Linked DNA regions of Homo sapiens: regions 2 and 3 are each linked to region 1. The links are contacts of gene promoters, found by promoter capture Hi-C in human tissues and cell types (Jung and others, 2019). All regions are on one chromosome and are shown on one strand. The core of a region is centred on a gene start or on the middle of the fragment in contact, and the rest is flanking DNA. Distances in the headings are between cores, read along the strand shown.

The links. Contacts are between HindIII fragments. The study calls those that stand out against the background at their distance.
Region 2: a contact is called between a fragment that was not itself captured here and the fragment with the promoter of C22orf31 in region 1, in 3 of the 25 tissues and cell types used here (IMR-90 fibroblasts, aorta and mesenchymal stem cells).
Region 3: a contact is called between a fragment that was not itself captured here and the fragment with the promoter of C22orf31 in region 1, in 2 of the 25 tissues and cell types used here (liver and mesenchymal stem cells).

Annotation. Positions count from the first base shown.
Region 1 is chr22:29,059,703-29,064,081 of GRCh38, forward strand. It overlaps C22orf31 (chromosome 22 open reading frame 31), which reads right to left and starts at 2,129. Exons shown (of 3, transcript NM_015370.2): 1 at 2,088-2,129; 2 at 713-1,141. The coding sequence starts at 2,090. RefSeq lists an enhancer at 2,499-3,266. The HindIII fragment of the contact is 14,185 bases long and covers 1-3,543 here.
Region 2 is chr22:29,159,397-29,163,775 of GRCh38, forward strand. It overlaps a transcript of KREMEN1 not described here. Among named protein-coding and RNA genes, the nearest start is that of EMID1, 44 kb to the right of the region's middle. The HindIII fragment of the contact is 5,684 bases long and covers 1-4,379 here.
Region 3 is chr22:29,142,042-29,146,420 of GRCh38, forward strand. KREMEN1 (kringle containing transmembrane protein 1) reads left to right here. Exons shown (of 9, transcript NM_001039570.3): 9 at 1-4,379. The coding sequence ends at 71. Among named protein-coding and RNA genes, the nearest start is that of EMID1, 62 kb to the right of the region's middle. RefSeq lists an enhancer at 3,744-4,379. The HindIII fragment of the contact is 4,164 bases long and covers 1-3,948 here.

The sequences.
Region 1 (4,379 bases), core at 879-3,378:
CGTAGGCCAAGTTCTCCATGTGGACGCTCACAATCCAGATCCATAGCTGACCACTGGTTGTGTGTGTGTGTGTGTGTGTGCACAAGCATGCACTACCCATATCCTAGCCTTCCTTCTCACCCTTATTTTTCCTTCATGTCAAGTCTGTGCTTATGAAAGCCACCTCATCCTTCTCTAGAACTAAGCATAGTGTAAATGATAAATAGCATGACCCCAAAATCTGGGGCATTCTTCCACTCTGTCATGCTACACCTCCTCCCCACATTCTGTCTTCAACTTTAGGATTTCCTTCACTTGGTATAGATCTTTTTTTCTTTTCTTTTTTTTTTTTTTTTTTTTTTATTTTTTAGACAGGGTCTTGCTCTGTTGCCCAATCAGGAATGCAGTAGTGCAATCATGGCTCACTGCAGCCTCAACCTCCTGGGTTCAAGTAATCCTCCCTCCTTAGCCTCCCAAGTAGCTGGGATCACAGGCATGTGCATCATGCCTGGCTTTTTTTTTTTTTTTTTAGTAGAGATGAGGTCTCCCTATGTTGCCCAGGCTGGTCTTGAACTCTCTGAGCTCAAGTGATCCTCCCTGCTTGGCCTCCCAAAGTGCTGAGATTATAGGCGGTAGCCGCACGCCATATAATCTCAACCGTTAAGTGTTCTCTGGCTTTACCTTTTCCCTCCCCTCGCCAGTCACATTTTCCCCACCACTGGTCCTCGTCTACCTCTCTGATGCCTCCTGCAGGCCTCCTATGCCCTGCTGGCTGCTTGCTCTTGGAACTGATGAAGTTTCTTTTCCTGGCCTGCTGGGTGGCTTTCATCACTGAATCGTCCTTGTGCTTTAATCTCTTCGAGAGTTTTCCTTCTCCAAACTTGCATGGTGGTGGGCAGCACTTATTCTTCAGTTGCCGCCTGAGTACAAGCTTAACCAGGGAGAAGGAACTGGCAATTAATGGGTTCCTTACAACTTCCCAAGAGGAAGTGGTAGCTGGTGCTGGGGCATTAATGTTCTGCTTTGCACATGTTCTGGCCATCCAGATGTTGGTGAGAGCCGGTGAGTCCACATAGCAGTCCTGAAGCCTGGTATTTAATAAGATGGACTGTCGGAGTCCATAGATAGGGATGCTGGGGTCTCGTCTCACATTGATTGGGTGCTAGAATTATAAGGAGGGAGAAATGAATTTTAAAAGGACCGTTCTTCAGCAGAGAATAAAAGGTCTACTTTGAAGGCAAAATATTAACATCTTTTTATAGGCCATTCCTTCCACCCAGTTCTTAGAAATTTACTATATGTCCTCTCCTGTTCACCAAAGCCTTTTATACCAAGTAGGGAGGAGATAGTCACTCCACAAGGTTACAGTAATATTCAGGCTCTCAAAGAACATAGCATGCCAGGGCAGGAAGTCGGGGGTCAGGGAGGGTTCACAAGGAATTGAAGACAATTCCTGCCTGCTGGAAAGATACGGACGGCAGGGTCACTCAAGACTTCCATATGAGCTGTAGACACTCAACCATGCTGCAACACAGACATGACAGCCGGTAAGTTCTGCCAAGCCCTGAATACGCTTTACACTTTCTTTTTTTGTGTGTGGGGGGGACGGAGTTTAGCTCTTGTTGCCCAGGCTGGAGTGCAATGGCGTGATCTTGGCTCACTGCAACCTCCGCCTCCCGGGCTCAAGGGATTCTTCTGCCTCAGCCTCCGAAGTAGTTGAGATTACAGGCATGCACCACCGCACCCAGCTGATGTTGTATTTTTAGTAGAGACAGGGTTTCTCCATGTTGGTCAGGCTGGCCTCGAACTCCCCACCTCAGATGATCCGCCCGCCTCAGCCTCCCAAAGTGCTGGGATTACCAGCATGAGCCACCATGTTCGGCTGAATACACTTTCTAACCAACTGCCATGCACCAAGAAGAGCTCATTCACAGGGAAATCAATATACTCTGGGGACCATAAAAGCAACACGAAAACATTAATGCTGCCGGCCTCCATTTCCTGGGACCAACTAAGAGCAACAGAACAATTTGGATAGATTAGAATCACATATTTAAAGAGATCTGGCTTTCTAAGAAATGTCATCTATAGAAATAAAATCACCTTACCATATTTCAGTTGCCTTAAATTTTATTTTCGCTAGCTTAGTAAGGGGAAGAAATATGTATTTTCTCTTTCCTTTTTCTCTCTCTCTCTTTTTTTTTGTTTTTGTTTTAATATTTCTAGTCACCTGTCTTTCTCTGCCTTAGTCACATATGGGCAAATTGCTGTTTGTTTAGATGTGGGCTCAATGCAGGCAGCTTTGAGCCATTATCTCTAGTATTTGTGATGTCACTTTGGTTTGTGATGTGGGTGTGGGTGGGTGTTACATCATCAGATTTTATAGTTAAATTATGTGGGAAGAAGTTCTATACGGTTTTGCTTCTAGCCTCAGAAACTTCTGAAGTCCTCATTTCCCCCAAAATGGCTTGGATGAATTTTGAAGATCTTCATGTTCTTAAGAAGTATGTTTTGCAGGAAATGTAGTCAAATATGCAGACCAGATTTGGGGATATGGGTAGTGAGATGCATCCCTACATGTGCAAAAGTGCCCTCCTTCATGTACATAAAGGAGGCACTGTTAAGTTCTCAGAACAGCTGCCAAGGTTAGGGACCAGGAATGAAAGAACACGTTCCTGCAGACCTGGGCACCTTTCCCTGCATGTCTCTCCCGGGAAGACTACATGGTTTCTGGAATGTGGGTTTCTTTTACATCCCATGGCAAATGCAGTAATTAGAGCTGTTAGCAGTGTCAAGGGCTTGAAAGGAGAACAAAGCCGCCTCTTCCTGGGAACTCTTGGGCAATGCCTCACTGCTTATCAGGTGCTCGTCCTGTTGGTGGGTTTGATTCTTTTATTTGTAAAATGCCTCAGGAGCCTCCCTCCTGAGGGGGAGGCCAGTGAAATGATGGAAAAACAGAGTATGAATCTGGCAGGGGCTCCTGGAATCGCATGTGTTGCCTGCTTGCGTTTTTAAGTGTTGTCCCTGGAGTGAATCAGAGCCTGCAGGCGGACCGCACCACAGGCTGTGGTGGAACCACCTCCAGGCCTATGGCAGCTGGACCCACAGACAGTTGAGAGGACAATTGCTCCCTTTCAGTGGCGAGCCCTGGCCTCACCTCCTAAGAGCTGGGTCGATTTTAGAGCAGGGCTTTGGAAAGGGTTTGTCTTTGGGAAGAGTTTGCGAATGTCTGGAGACTGGGCAGGCAAGAGTCTTTTCAAAGCTGGTCAGTCTTGGAAAAATGGCACCGGGCTCCTGGGCTACCTGGAAATTACCATCTGTCTTTACTCTGCAAAGCAGGGACAGGAGGGAAATGTCAAGCAAAAAAAGGCATAATAGGAGTAGGTCATCTGTTTCTCTTTTCTCCTTCTCCATCTTGAGTTTGGCTTTCCTGCACCTCATCTTTCCACACACTCATCCGTTAGATTTACTCTGCTAGGTCTTTTACTCAATGACTCTGCTTGGTCTTTTACTCACTCTGTCCCCCAGGCTGGAGTGCAGTGGTGCGATCTCGGCTCACTGCAACCTCCGCTTCCTGGGGTTCAAGCAATTCTCGTGCATCAGCCACCCAAGACGCTGGGATTACAGGCGCGGACCACCAAGCCCAGCTAATTTTTGTATTTTTAGTAGAGATGAGTTTTCACCATGTTGGCCCAGCTGGTCTCAAACTCCTGGCCTCAAGTGATCCACCCACCTTGGCCTCCCAAAGTGCTGGGATTACAGGCGTGAGCCTGTGCTCAGCCTCAATCTCCTTCTTCCAGCAGAGAGCTGTTCACATGGGCAGCACTTGATACATACTCTTCAAGTTCTATCAAATTCTGCCTTCTCTGCCTTCATTGTAACTCACTTCAATTGACTATGCCACAACAGGTAACCCTCAGCCTTCCTTAGAACTAACCCAGGGTACTTTGTTCTAAGCTATTTCTCCTATGTCAATAAAACTAATATTTATTGAATGCTTCCTGAAGGCCAGGCACTGTTCTAGCCACTTTATTAGCATCATGTCATGAAATGCTACCAACCATCCTATGAGTTTGAGCACTGTTCCCTGTTTTACAGATAAAGAAACTGAGGCACAAGTTGCTCAAGTATCATGCCTCAAGTAACCAACAAAGGCTGAACCCAACCAAAGTCTATACTGCCCTTGTTTTTGTTTTTGTTTTTGAGACGGAGTTTCACTCTTGTCACCCAGGCTGGAGTGCAGTGGCACGATCTTGGCTCACTGCAACCCCCACCTCCCAGGTTCAAGGGATTCTCCTGCCTCAGCCTCCCAAGTAGCTGGGATTATAGGCACGCACTATCATGCCGGGCTAATTTTTGTATTTTTAGTAGAGATGGGGTTTCACCATGTTGGCCAGGCT
Region 2 (4,379 bases), core at 1,195-3,694, 100 kb after region 1:
GATCTTGAGGTCAGGAGTTCGAGACCAGCCTGACCAACATGGTGAAACCCTATCTCTACTAAAAATACAAAAATTAGCCAGGTGTGGTGGCGCACGCCTGTAATCCCAGCTACTCAGGAGGCTGAGGCAGGAGAATTGCATGAACCCAGGAGACGGAGGTTGCAGTGAGCCGAGATCACGTCACTGCACTCCAGCCTGGGCAACAGAGCGAGACTCTGTCTAAAAAATAAAAAACAAAAACAAAAATAAATAAATAAACAAACATTCAGGAAGCACAGGTTTCAGACTCTCCTTGCTAAGGAGCAAGACTGGTCAGAAACAGGTGCTTACTGGTGAGAGATTTTTCACAAACAGAGAACGATGAACTCTGCACGTGACGTGATGTTGAGGATGGCAGATGGGTGGATGAAGTCCGTGCCCATATAGGAAAATGGGGACATCAGATTAAAGCAAGAGGGAGGCTAACCTCAGGGGACTCTACTTATATATATGTAGAAACACTTAAGGAGACCTGGACTTTTTTTTAAAGATAAGGTCTCTTAGCCCCATAATAGTGGAGGACTTCAACACCCCACTGACAGCATTAGACAGATCATCAAGGCAGAAAACTACCAAAGAATTTCTGGACTTAAACTCAGCACTTGACCAATTGGACCTATTAGACATCTATGGAAAACTCCACCCATCAGCCACAGAATATACATTCTTCTCATCCACACATGGAACATATTCCAAGATCAACCACATGCTCAGCCATAGAGCAAGTCTCAATACATTCAAAAAAATCAAAATCATACCAGCCATACTCTTGGACCACAGTAGAATGAAGACGGAAAATACTAAGAAGATTTCGGCTGGGTGTGGTGGCTCACTCCTGTAATCCTAGCACTTCGGGAGGCCAAGGCAGGTGGATCACTTGAGGTCAGGAGTTCGAGACCAGCCTGCCCAACATGGTGAAACCCTGTCTCAACTAAAAATACAAAAAAAAAAAAAATTAGCTAAGCATGGTGGCAGGTGCCTGTAATCCCAGCTACTCGGGAGGCTGAGGCAGGAGAATCACTTGAACCTGGGAGATGGAGGTTGCAGTGAGCCGAGATCATGCCACTGCACTCCAGCCTGGGTGACAGACCGAGACTCCGTCTCAAAAAAAAAAAAAAAAAAAAAAAATTAAGAAGATCTCTCAAAACCATACAATTACATGAAAATTAAATGACTTGCTCCTGAATGATTTTGGGGGTAAACAACAAAATAAAGGCACAAAATCAAAAAAATTCTTTGAAAGAAATGAAAACAGAGATACAAAATACCAAAATCTCTGGGATGCAGCAAAAGCAGTGTTAAGAGGAAAGCTGATGGTGCTCAATGCCTACCTCAAGAAGTTAGACCTCAGATTAACCATCTAATATCGCACATAGAGGAACTAGAAAAACAAGAACAAGCTAACCCAGAAGATAGCAGAAGAAAAGAAATAACTAAAATCAGAGTAGAACTTAATGAAATTGAGACACAAAAATTCATACAAAGAATCAGCAAAACCAAAAGTTGATTATTTGAAAGGATAAACAGGATCAGTAAACCGCTAGCTAGATTAACAAAGAAAGAGAGATCAAATAAGCAAAATCAGAAATAACAAATGTGTCACTTGTAATAAGGGACCCCACAATACAAAAGATCCTCAGAGACTATTATGAACACCTCTGCACACATAAACTAGAAAATCTAGAGGCAATAGATAAATTCCTGGAAACACACCATCTCCCAAGAGTGAATCAGGAAGAAACTGAAAGACTGAACAAATCAATATCATGTTCAGAAATTGAATCAGCACTGGCCAGGCGTGGTGGCTCATGCCTGTGATCCCAGCACTTTGGGGGGCCAAGGTGGGCAGATCATGAGGTCAGGAGATCGAGACCATCCTGGCTAACATGATGAAACCCCGTCTGTACTAAAAATACAAAAAATTAGCCAGGCGTGGTGGCAGGCGCCTGTAGTCCCAACTACTTGGGAGGCTGAGGCAGGAGAATGGCGTGAACCCGGGAGGCAGAGCTTGCAGTGAGCTGAGATTGCGCCACTGCACTCCAGCCTGGGTGACAGAGTGAGACTCCATCTCAAAAAAAAAAAAAAAAAAAAAAAAAGATATTGAATTGGTACTAAAAAACTTACCAGCCAAAAAATGCTTTGGACCAGTTATATTTACAGCCACATTCCACCAGATGTACAAGGAAGAGCTGCTACCAATTCTACTGAAACTATTCCAAAAAATCAGGTAGGAGGAACTCTTCTCTAACTCATTCTATGAAGCCAGCATCACCCTGACCTCAAAACCTGGCAAAGACACAGTGAAAAAAGAAAGCTTCAGGCCAATATCCCTGATGAACATAGACACAACAATCCTCAACAAAATACTAGCAAACTGAATTCAACAGCACATCAAAAAGTTGGCCGGGTGGTGGCTCATGCTGTAATCCCAGCACTTTGGGAGGCTGAGGTGGATAGATCACTAGAGGCCATAAGTTCGAGACCAGCCTGACCAACATGGCGAAACCCCATCTCTACTAAAAATACAAAAAAATTAGCCAGGTATGGTGGTGCATGTCTATAATCCCAGCTCCTCGGGAGGCTGAGGCAGGAGAATCACTTGAACCTGGAGGTGGAGGTTGCAGTGAGCCGAGATTGTGTCACTGCACTCTAGCCTGAATAACAGAGCGAGACTCTACCTCAAAAAAAAAAAAAAGATTAATTCACTATGATCAAGTAGGTTTCATTCCTGTGATGCAAGATTGGTTCAACATGCATGAATCAATAAATGTGATTCACCACATAAACAGAATTACAAACAAAAACCATCATCCCAATAGATGCAGAAAATGCTTTCAATAAACTCCAACATCCTTTCGTGATAAAAACCCTCAAGAAACTAGGCATCGAAGGAATGTACCTCAAAATAATAAGAGCCATCTATGACAAACCCACAGCCAACATCATACTGAATAGGCAAACACTGAAGCATTCCCCCTTGGAACAAGAAAAGCAATGCCGGCCGGGCACAGTGGCTCACACCTATAATCCCAGCACTCTGGGAGGCTGAGGCAAGTGGATGAACTGAGGTCAGGAGTTCAAGACCAGCCTGGCCAACATGGTGAAACCCCGTTTCCACTAAAAATACAGAAAATTAGCTGGGCGTGGTGGCAGATGCCTGTAATCTCAGCTACTCGGGAGGCAGGAGAATTGCTTGAACCCTGGAGGTGGAGGCTGCAGTGAACCGAGATTGTGCCACTGCATTCCAGCCTGGGCAACAAGAGCAAAACTCCGTCACACAAAAAAAAAGAAAAAAAGAAAAAAAAGCAATTCCATTATTGGGTATATATCCAAAAGGAAACAAAGTATTATACCAAAATGACATAGGCACTTGTGTGTGCATTGCGGCACTATTCACAATAGCAAAGACAAGGAATCAACGTAGGTGCCCATCAATGGTGGATTAGATAAAGAAATCATAGTACATATACATTGTGGAATACTACATAATCATAAAAAAGAATTAAATCATGTACTTTGCAGCAATACAGATCCAGCTGGAGGCCATTCACAAGTACATAAAACCATAAACATTGGGTACTGATATGGTTTGGCTCTGTGTCCTCACACAAATCTCATCTCGAATCGTAATCCCTGCTTGCCAAGGAGGGACCTGTAATCCCCACGTGTTGAGGGAGGGAAGGATTACCGGGGCAATTCCCCACCGCCCCGCCGTTCTCGTGATAGTGAGTGAATGTCGCGAGATTTGATGGTTTTAAAAGTGGAATTTTTTCCTGCTCTAGCTCTCACGCTCTCCTGCCATCTCTTGAAGGAGGTGTCTGCTTCTCCTTTTGCCTTCCGCCATGCTTGTAAGTTTCCTGAGGCCTCCCCAGCAAATAATGCGAAACTGTGAGTCAATTAAGCCTCTTTCCTTTATAAATTACCCAGTTTCAGGTATTTCTTTCTTGTTTTGTTTTTTTGAGATGGAGTTTCACTCTCATCGCCCAGGCTGGAGTGCAGTGGCGCGAACTCGGCTCACTGCAATATCCGCCTCCCGGGTTCAAACGATTCTCTTACCTCAGTCTCCCGAATAGCTGGGATTACAGGGGCCACCACCACGCCCAGCTAATTTTTGTATTTTTAGTAGAGACAGGGTTTCATCATGTTGGCCAGGTTGGTCTGGAACTCCTGACCTCAAGTGATCCACCCACCTCAGCCTCCCGAAGTGCTGGGATTACAGGCATGAGCCACCACGCCCGGCCTCAGGCATTTCTTTATAACAGTGTGAGAACAGACTAATACAGGTACTCAGGGACATAAAGATGGCAACAGTAGACACTGGGGACTACTAAGGGGGGAAG
Region 3 (4,379 bases), core at 617-3,116, 82 kb after region 1:
TTTCCATCTTTAAGAAGAAACTCAAGGGTCAGAGTCAACAAGATGACCGCAATCCCCTTGTGAGTGACTAAAAACCCCACTGTGCCTAGGACTTGAGGTCCCTCTTTGAGCTCAAGGCTGCCGTGGTCAACCTCTCCTGTGGTTCTTCTCTGACAGACTCTTCCCCTCCTCTCCCTCTGCCTCGGCCTCTTCGGGGAAACCCTCCTCCTACAGACTAGGAAGAGGCACCCTGCTGCCAGGGCAGGCAGAGCCTGGATTCCTCCTGCTTCATCGATTGCACTTAGGAGAGAGACTCAAAGCCCTGGGGCCCGGCCCTCTCTGCATCTCTCTCTGATCTAGCTAGCAGTGGGGGTGTCAGGACAGTGAGGCTGAGATGACAGAGGTGGTCATGGCTGGCACAGGGCTCAGGTACATTCTAGATGGCTGTCAGGTGGTGGGTAGCTTTAGTTACATTGAATTTTTCTTGCTTCTCTATTTTTGTCCACACACAAATCAGTTTCTCCTGATCTTTATGTCTTGGAACAGGGCCAGACAGGGAGAACTCTCAGGTACTCTTGGGAGTTGGTCCCATACAAGTGCGGACTCCTGGACATTAGCGAGGTGTAAAGAGGGCAGTGTCTGTGCTGCCCCGGCAGCTTTGCTCTCCAGATGCTGGACTAGGGTGGGCCTCCTTCAGCCTGGGAGGGTCTGAGAATAAGATCTAGTGACCCCCATTTATATCAAACCTGATACCTTACACATGGGCTTCTTTCTAGATTCTTCTTTCCATAGCTCATGGAGCTGCAGGGAAAGCTTTAAGAGCTTTGGTCATATAAAACATCCATTCAGCTGGGCGCGATGGCTCATGCCTGTAATCCCAGCACTGTGGGAGGCTGAGGCGGGCAGATCACCTGAGGTCAGGAGTTCGAGACCAGCCTGGCCAACATGGTGAAACCCCGTCTCTACTAAAAATATAAAAATTAGTCAGGCGTGGTGGCAGGCGCCTGTAATCCCAGCTACTCAGAAGGCTGAGACAGAAGAACAGCTTGAACCCAGGAGGCTGAGATTGCAGTGAGCCGAGATCGCACCACTGCACTCCAGCCTGGGTGACAAGAGTGAGACTCTGTCTCAAAAAAACAAAACACAAATAAACAAAAAAAATCCATTCATTTACTCATGCAATAAATTCTCCTGCAAGCTTTTATGGGCACTCAGTAAGTACTCAGGATTGGCTTTATCAGCCTTGCCACTGAGCAGCTCATGGTCCTATGGAACCTGAGCCAGGCCTCAGTCTCTCCATGATTGGCTCAGCTAACTCTCAGTTCAGAGTGGAGAGTATCAATCTTGTGTTTTTGCCCTTAGGCAGCACTATATGAGACATGGGGCCTGTGGTCCTTCCTTCTGGTGTCCCCCGTGTTAAAAGATAAAAAACACCCCAAGGGCCGGGCGCGGTGGCTCATGCCTGTAATCCCAGCACTTTGGGAGGCTGAGGCGGGTGGATCACGAGGTCAGGTGATCGAAACCATCCTGGCTAAGATGGTGAAACCCCGTCTCTACTAAAAATACAAAAAATTAGCTGGGTGTGGTGGTGGGCGCCTGTAGTCCCAGCTGCTCGGGAGGCTGAGGCAGGAGAATGGCGTGAACCCGGGAGGCGGAGCTTGCAGTGAGCAGAGATCACGCCACTGCACTCCAGCCTGGGTGACAGTGCAAGACTCTGTCTCAAAAAAAAAAAAAACACTCCAAGGGCCATCCGTGCTCTCTGCCCCTCCTGTGGGGACCAAGTGGGGTTAGGAATGGCTCAGTGGGGAAGGAGAGCACTCTTGTCCCCAGTCCCTTGCCACCCTGTCCCTTAGATAGGGAGGTGGGCTGCAGAGATTGGTGCCAGAAGAGGGTGGGTTTGGGAATTGGAGCTCCTCCAAGGAGCTCCTCCTAAGATTGAGTGCTGCAGCTGTAGTGGCTGCTGGTTGGGAGAGTAAGTGCCATCACTAATTTAAAAGTCCTTGCCATCTGGAATCAGGCTTTGTCAACAGCAGCTGAGAAAAGCAGCCTGTGCCTCTGCTGGCCAGGCCTAGGCCCTCGTCAGAGCGTGCCTCTCCACAAGGCACTTGGGCCTGGGTGATTGTTGCGCCTCTGGCTTTGGCGTTTCCTCTTTGCAGCACTTTGCCTACCTCCCCCAAGCCCTGAGCCACTGCCTGCTGGGGCTCCTACTGAGGTTCTGGAAACACCTCTGCACCTGCCGCCCCTGGGAGGAAAGAGGGCCACACAGGAAGTGTCTGCAGGGAGAGGTGGCACTCGGCAGCCTGAGTTCAGGAGAGGTGCTTGGAGCTTCAGGCAGAGGGGCCTTCAGAGGAGGGAAACGGAGCAATGTGTCACAGGCAGGCAGGGGCAGGACTGCCACCCCAGGCCCCGTGGGAGGCCTGCTGAGGGCACAGAGCTGCTCGGTGCAGCCTTCATGCTTTGATCTGGAAAGAGCAGCTGTCCGCAGGCCTCTGTCTCCAAGAGGCCTGTCACACAGGAGGACCGCTGGAAACATACCAACACGTGCAGTCTCCCCTCCAAGCTATTCATGCTGTTTGTGGAATCTCTCTCAAACATAAGTGTCAGGTGTGTGTCGTCCCAACGGGTCCTGTGCTGTGAATAGATCCATGTGCAGCACAAAGGGAATGTGGCACGTGGCCCCAGGAAGAGTTCACCCGGCCAGGGGGCAGTTGTTCAGTTGCCTGGGGCTGACACTGACCACTGGCCTCTGGGGTGTCCTGCAGCCCAAATGCCCACCTTGCCCTCCTCACATCTCAGTCAGGGGAGGCCATGCCCAAGCCAATGTGCTGTCACAGCCTGCAGCGGGGGCAGCACTTCCTCGGAGGGCCTGGGAGGTGCTGGGGATGCCCCAGCGCTTCTCTTCCTGCCTCGCCCTGGCATGGCCCAGCGCCTCTAGGATCAACTTACGATCCGTGGAGCAGCCCCGGGAAACCCAAATCTGGCTCAGGACAGCGTACGGGCAGGAGGGCTGTAAATCATCCCAGGCTAAGCCTCCGTGGGCACTGGCTCCTGCCGCAGCCTGGCTATGGACTCAGTTAGAACCAGGTAGAAAGTCAGCGACACCCCACAGAAGGCCACTGCGGCTAGGTAAACACCTGAGAAAGAAACTGCTCCAGAAGAGATGACGTGGGCTTCCAGGAGCATGGAGGAGGTGGCACTTGAACTTTTAGGAAACTCCTTAGATGAGATAAAGTGGGGGTTGGAGGTGGCGAAAAGAGGGTAACCCTGGGAAAGTCAGTCAGAACCCATGGCAGAAGACTGCAGGAGAGGCAGGGGAGGGGCTTCGGGGACCACTGTGGACAGAGCTCTGAAAGCACCCTGGCCAAAGCCCCTCCTGAGGTGACAGAGCGTGGGAGGAGGCTGCACTGGGCCTGCGTGCCATCCTCACCCCTGTTCCCCGCTGGCGCCAGGCCCTGCCTTCTTGGTACCTGTGCCAACAGGAGAGCCCTCACCAGCCGATCTTGTCACTCTCCGTGGTGACAGTGTCTTGGCCAGCTGTGGCCCCTAGTTTCTAGCAGCGTTTCTCAGTGTCCTTGGCCCTTCTGAGAAGGCAGGCGGGAGGCACACGGTGCCCTGTTCTTCCCCGTTTGTCCAGTTGCTTGCAAAGCAGAGAATGAGTAGGAGTGAACCCGAGTGACTTCACCCGCCCTGTCCCCCACGTCAGGACAGGCTTGAGGCCTCTCTGGGCGTGAGCGAGGAAACCAGGCTGCTCTAACTTCTGAAGAGTGGGCTCTGGCTCAAGACTCCAATCGGCCAGAAGCCCACAGAGATCAAAGCACTAGCAAGTTCAGCTGTCCTGGCCCTCGGGTAGAACCCACGGGCGTGCCTGGGTGCGGCTCCACCCACATGCCCCACTGTCAGCCCAGGCAGGAGCCTTCCTGGCCGGGCTCAGGATCTGCCTGCAGCCCAGCCAGGCCATCACCCAGCCCCGATGCATCCTGGCACTGCACGCTTACTCTTCACAAGCACTTATACGCGGATGGCCTCCGAGACCCTGCCTCCCTGGTCTGCTGAGGTCAGGCCAGGTCTCCCACGGAGCCGGGCAGCTCCACACCCCACCACCTGGCACCGTTAGGTTTCAGATCTCCCGTGTGGTGTTTGATGTCGGCTTTTGTTCCTACCTTGGGAGTTTGGATTGTTTCCTCTGGTGTCTTTGTTTACCTTCCTCACTGTTCTACCTCCTGGCCAGGTCTCAGCTTAGCTTCCCTGGTGTGGGGTGTTTTTCAAGCCTTCCAGCCACAGCTGTCTCCCCTCAGGCTGGACGGCTCCGGGGTGACAGGGCTTCACCCTCTGCCTGCAGACCCCTGGTGGGCACATCTCACAGGCTTCCGTCTTGCTGAGTTGGGTACGGAGGCAGAAGT